Regions from separate parts of the Homo sapiens genome. Here region 2 is linked to region 1. Evidence: promoter capture Hi-C in 16 types of primary human blood cells and fetal thymus (Javierre and others, 2016). All regions are on one chromosome and are shown on one strand. The core of a region is centred on a gene start or on the middle of the fragment in contact, and the rest is flanking DNA. Distances in the headings are between cores, read along the strand shown. Region 1 holds the start of PIK3R4 (phosphoinositide-3-kinase regulatory subunit 4). Region 2 overlaps LOC107986023 (a long non-coding RNA gene).

Region 1 (3,012 bases), core at 325-2,824:
GATATAATACCTGTTTAAAATAAAAACAAATGAAGAAAAAAGACAAGAAACAAAGAAGCTGTGAAACACCATTATTCCATTATTTGGTCTCTTCCAAAAAGACAGATGCAGCATACTTCTCTTCCACTAACAGCACTGTACCTAGCCTTCTGGGGCAGCCTCTAAATTTCACACACATTTATCTAAAAAGACCATGTTATTTTCTCCAAGAAGACCTTGTTATTTTACCTAAAAATACCCTGCTATTGCGCATCGCCATTTCCAGGAGCTGAACTATATTTAGATAGGCCTCTTCAACTTTAAGCCAAAAATGTTAGTTTGTGTTATTTTCTCATATTTAAATTTAAAATATTAATGAGCCTTTACTATGTGTTCCGTGCTGTGCTTGGGGCTATGAGAATTACAAAGTTACCATATGACATAGTTCTTGTCCAAGAATCTGTAGTTTCTTGGAAATAAGAAAGAGACACATTAAAAGCTTAAAACTGGCCGGGCGCGGTGGCTCACGCCTGTAATCCCAGCACTTCGGGAGGCCGAGGCGGGAGGATCACGAGGTCAGGAGCTCAAGACGGGGCTGGCCAACATGGTTAAAATCCCGTCTCTACTAAAAATACAAAAATTAGCCGGGCGTGGTAGTGGGTGCCTGTAATCCCAGCTACTCGTGAGGCTGACGCAGAATTGCTTGAACCCAGGACGCAGAGGTTGCAGTGAGTGGAGATCCCGCCACCGCACTCCAGCCTGGGTGACAGAGCGAGACTCCGTCCGTCTCAAAAAATAAAAAAAAAAAAAGAAAAACTGAAAACTGAAAAGGTCAAACTAAGATCTAAAAATTCAGTTAACTCCTGGACACTTCCTGCCTAATTCCAGTGTGCCCTCTCACCCAGCTAAAAGAAGGTGCAAACTTCGCTGGTCTGCAACAAGAAACCTTGCCACAGATGTTAAAGAAAAGCAGACCAAAGTATACACTAGCTAAACGTACCCCAGGGTTCTGCTAACTCAGGTTTTGCAGGAAATAAATGCCACACATATACACACACGACCTTGAGCACACATAAACATTTACCCTAGGCCTCGGGAAAGTGTCAAAATCGTTCAGAGGCTCACAACGAGGTCATAGTAGACTACTTCGGGGACGGGACGGGAAAACGCGTCAGCAGCGGGGAAGTTGTTTCTACGAAGGGTCTTTCTTCATAGACAGGAGATGGGCTGTTGGTGGAGGGGCGCAGAAAAGTCCCGATCTTCAGGAACCCCGGTGGTCCTGGGAGGAGAACTGGGAAAGCTCTCGGGGTCTCAGCAGAGAGAAGAAGCCACGCTAAAGAGTCTCCACAAGTACCCCGGGATTTGACCCCTCCAGCCCCCTAACCTGCCCTGGGGGACATGCGTTCCCGGGCCTCGTCTTCCTCTAGCGCGGATCGCTACACCCGTCCGAGCCCTCCTCGAGGGCCTCACCACCGGGCGGGGGGAGATGGAACCCGGGAGAGAAGTGCAGACCGCCAGTCCCAAGAAAACACTACACTTCAGCTGCTGCAGCCCCAGCAAACGCCGAACTCCCGGGAAAGCAACCGGTCTGACCTCACTTCCTGTCGCCGAGCGGAAGTGACGAAAAAGAGTGAGCCTTGAGGAATTGCCAGGGTAGGAAACCGGTTGCTAGGAAACTAGGGAAGGCGTGGTCTTACTTTGGGCGAGTCTACAGGGAGAAAATGATGCTCTGACAAAGATCTATTCCCCTTCCTGCTCTTCTACCTTTCATTCACGAACGCTGAGGTTTCTGACATCCCCTAGAATCTGCTCAGACACGCCTTCACTCCCAGGACAGCAGAACAGAGTTAAGAGAACTCAAGAATATTTAGGAAAACTAATATATCCCAAGCTGGATTTTTAGAGTTCTGGTGAGATATAACTTACATACCATAAAGTTCACCTGCTTAAAATGTACAAAGCAGTAGTTTTTAATACATCTATCGAGTTGTGCAATCATCCCTATAATCTGATTTTAATTTTTTTTTTTTTTTTTTTTTTTTTTTTTTTTTTTTTTTTTTTTTTTGAGGCTGAGTCTCGTTCTGTCGCCCAGGCTGGAGTGCAGTGGAGCGATCTCGGCTTACTGCAACCTCCACCTCCCGGGTTCAAGCGATTCTCCTGCCTCAGCCTCCCGAGTAGCTGAGACTACAGGCGCCCGCCACCACGCCCGGCTAATTTTTTTGTATTTTTAGTAGAGGCGGGGTTTCACCGTGTTAGCCAGGTTGGTCTCGATCTCCTGACCTCGTGATCCGCCTGCCTCAGCCTCCCAAAGTGTTGGGATTACAGGCGTGAGCCGCCGCGCCCGGCCTTTTTTTTTTTCTTTTGGAGACAGTCTGGCTCTGTCACCCAGGCTGGAATGCAGTGGTGCCATCTCGGCTTACTGCAAACTCCACCTCCCGGGTTCAAGCGATTCTCATGCCTCTGCCTCCAGAGTAGCTGGGACCACAGGCACGTGCCACCACGCCCAGCTAGGTTTTTGTTTTTTTTTTTTTTGAGACGGAGTCTCGCTCTTGTCGCCCAGGCTGGAGTGCAGTGGCGCGATCTCGGCTCACTGCAAGCTCCGCCTCCCGGGTTCACGCCATTCTTCTGCCTCAGCCTCCCGAGTAGCTAGGACTATAGGCGCCCGCCACCGCGCCGGGCTAATTTTTTGTATTTTTTTTTTAGTAGAGACGGGGTTTCGCCGTGGTCTCGATCTCCTGACCTCGTGATCCACCCGGCCTCTCAAAGTGCTGGGATTACAGGCGTGAGCCACCGCGCCCGGCCGCTAGTTTTTGTATTGTTTGTAGAGATGGGGTTTCACCATGTTGGCCAGGATGGTCTGGATCTCCTGACCTCAAGTGATCCGCCGCCTCGACCTCCCAAAGTGCTGGGATTACAGGTATGAGCCACCGCGCCCAGCCTGCCTGATTTTAAACATTTTCATTACCCCAAAAGGAAACCCTGAAACCATTCGGAGTCACTCCCTGTTCTCCCCCATTTCTCCTCCCCCTTCCA
Region 2 (3,028 bases), core at 273-2,772, 120 kb after region 1:
AAGTGAGGAGCCCCTCTGCCCGGCCACCACCCCGTCTGGGAGGTGTGCCCAGCGGCTCATTGGGGATGGGCCATGATGACAATGGCGGTTTTGTGGAATAGAAAGGCGGGAAGGGTGGGGAAAAAATTGAGAAATCGCATGGTTGCCGGGTCTGTATGGATAGAAGTAGACATGGGAGACTTTTCATTTTGTTCTGTACTAAGAAAAATTCTTCTGCCTTGGGATCCTGTTGATCTGTGACCTTATCCCCAACCCTGTGCTCTCTGAAACATGTGCTGTGTCCACTCAGGGTTAAATGGATTAAGGGCGGTGCAAGATGTGCTTTGTTAAACAGATGCTTGAAGGCAGCATGCTCGTTAAGAGTCATCACCACTCCCTAATCTTAAGTACCCAGGGACACAAACACTGCGGAAGGCCGCAGGGTCCTCTGCCTAGGAAAATCAGAGACCTTTGTTCACTTGTTTATCTGCTGACCTTCCCTCCACTATTGTCCTATGACCCTGCCAAATCCCCCTCTGCGAGAAACACCCAAGAATGATCAATAAAAAATAAAAAAAAAAAAAAAAAAAAAAAAAAAAAAGAAATGATTAAGCTTAATGAGGAAGCATGTTGAAAGCTGAGGTAGGCTGAAAGCTAGGCCTCATGCATCAGTTAGCCAAGTTGTCAATACAAAGGAAAATTCTTGAAGGAAATTAAAAGTGCTACTCCAGTGAACACACAAATGATAAGAAAGCTAAACAGTATTTTTGCTAATGTGCAGGAAGTTTGAGCGGTCTGGATACAAGACCAAACCAGGCATACCATTCCTTTAGGCCAAAGTCTAATTCAGAGTAAGTCTCTAACTCTCTTGAATTCTGTGAAGGTTGAGAGAGGAGGGTTAGCTGCAGAAGAAAAGTTTGAATATAGCAGAGGTTGGTTCTTGAGGTTTAAGGAAAGAAGCAATCTCCATAACATAAAAGTACAAGGTGAAGCAGCAAGGAGTGATGGAGAAGTGGCAGCAAGTAATCCAGAAGACCTAGCTAAGATCATTGATGAAGGTGGCTATACTAAATAATAGATTTTCAATGTGGATAAAAAGCCACAGGCTGACTTTCTTGTTTGGAACCAGTACAGCTGTTGACTTTAAGTTGAAGCCAATGATGATTTATCATTCTGAAAATTCTAGGTCCCTAAAGAATGATGCTAAATCTACTTTGCTTGTGCTCTATCAATGGAACAACAGAGCCTGTAGGACAGCAGATCCATTTATAGCATGGCTTACTGAATATTTTAAGCCCACTGTTGAGACCTCAAAAAAAAAAATAGATTCCTTTCAAAATATTACTGCTCTTCACAGTGCAGCTAGTCACCCAAGAGCTCTGACATGAGGTAAAAGGAGAATAATGTTTTCATGTCTGCTGTCTGTTCTGCAGTCCATGGATCAAGGAAGAATTTTAACTTTCAAGTCTTATTATTTAAGAAACACATTTCATAAGGCTATAGCTACCATAGATAGTGATTCCTCTGATGGATCTGGGCAAAGTAAACTGAAAACTTTCCAGAGAGGATTCACCATTCTAGGTGTCACTAAAAACATTTGTGATTCATGAAAGGAGGACAAAGTGTCAACATTAACAGGAGTTTAGAAGAAGTTGATTCCAACCCTCATGGATGACTTTGAGGGATTCAAGACTTCAGTGGAGGAAGTAAGTACAGATGTGGTAGAAAGGGCAAGATAACTAGAAGTGGATCCTGAAGATGTTACTGAATTGCTGCAATTTCATGATAAACGTTGAACAGATGAGGAATTGCTTCCTCATAAGAAAACACAGAAAATGTTTTCTTATGATAGAACCTATTGCTGGGTAGATATGCTGTGAACATTGTTGAAATGATGACAAAGGATTTAGAGTATTTTATAAACTGAGGTGATAAAGCAGTGGCAGGGTTTGAGAGGACTGACTCCAATTTTGAAAGAGGTTCTACTATGCTACTAAACAGCATCAGACAATACAGAGAAATCATTTGTGCAAGGAAGAGTCAATTGATGCACCAAACTTTATTATTGTTTTATTTTAGGAAATTGCCACCGCCACTTCAACTTTCAGCAACCACCGCCCTGATCAGTCAATAGCCATTAACGTCAAGGCGAGATCCCCTACCAGCCAAAATATTATGACTCATTGATGGTTCAGATGATCATTAACATTCTTTAGCAATAAAGTATTTTTTAACTAAGGTATATACATTTTTTTAGACTTGCTATTGAATACTTAATAGACTACAATACAGTGTAAACATAAATTTTGTATGCACTGGGAAACCAAAAAATTTGTGTGACTTTCTGTATTGTGATATTTGCTTTATTGTGGTGGTCTCAAACCAAGCTCACAATATCTCTGAGTTATCCCTGTACATTCTTATTCACTCTTAGAATTGAGTACTATTGGCATGATCAAAATATTTTTAGATGAAAGCTTAATGCTTCTTGTAAACAGTGCTGAAACTTTAGCATGCATTGGAATCACCTAAAGGACTAATTAAAACAGAATGCTGGGCCCCACCTCCAGAGTTTCTAATACAGTAGGACTGAGGTGGGGCCCAAGAGTCTGCATTTCTAAAAAAATTCCAGGTGGGAGGGACCACACTTTCAGAACCACTGTTGCAGATCATTTGATGATGTATATTTCCAAAATCAAAGCTGACAGGGCTTGTCATACCTACTCAAGAATAGCATGTATGCTGCTTAGAAGATGGTAAGTCATTGTCAAAGCCAGAGGGATACTAATGATGACTTAGAGTTTCACAGGTTCTTAATTGACCATTTTCATTCACCTTGGCTGATGCCTAGTGTTACTTAATGCTTAGTAAGAAATCTTTAGGCCAGGGGCGGTGGCTCACCCCTATAATCCCAAACTTTGGGAGGCAGAGGCCGGCGGATCAGCTGAAGTAAGGAGTTCCAGACCAGCCTGGCCAATGTGGTGAAACCCCATCTCTATTAAAAAGTACAAAAATTAGCCAGGCGTGCTGGCGCGTGCCTATAACCCCT

Evidence for each region. Contacts are between HindIII fragments. The CHiCAGO score rates a contact against its expected background, and 5 or more counts as called.
Region 2: a fragment that was not itself captured here is called in contact with the fragment with the promoter of PIK3R4 in region 1 in 2 of 17 cell types (megakaryocytes and erythroblasts); the score reaches 8.0 in megakaryocytes.

The regions. Positions count from the first base shown.
Region 1 is chr3:130,745,255-130,748,266 of GRCh38, forward strand. PIK3R4 (phosphoinositide-3-kinase regulatory subunit 4) reads right to left here and starts at 1,575. Exons shown (of 20, transcript NM_014602.3): 1 at 1,064-1,575; 2 at 1-10. RefSeq lists an enhancer at 1,256-1,315 and a silencer at 2,550-2,599. The HindIII fragment of the contact is 4,673 bases long and covers 477-3,012 here.
Region 2 is chr3:130,868,880-130,871,907 of GRCh38, forward strand. All of the region lies in intron 1 of LOC107986023 (a long non-coding RNA gene), which reads right to left. It also overlaps a transcript of ATP2C1 not described here. Among named protein-coding and RNA genes, the nearest start is that of ATP2C1, 24 kb to the right of the region's middle. RefSeq lists an enhancer at 1-805. The HindIII fragment of the contact is 1,864 bases long and covers 591-2,454 here.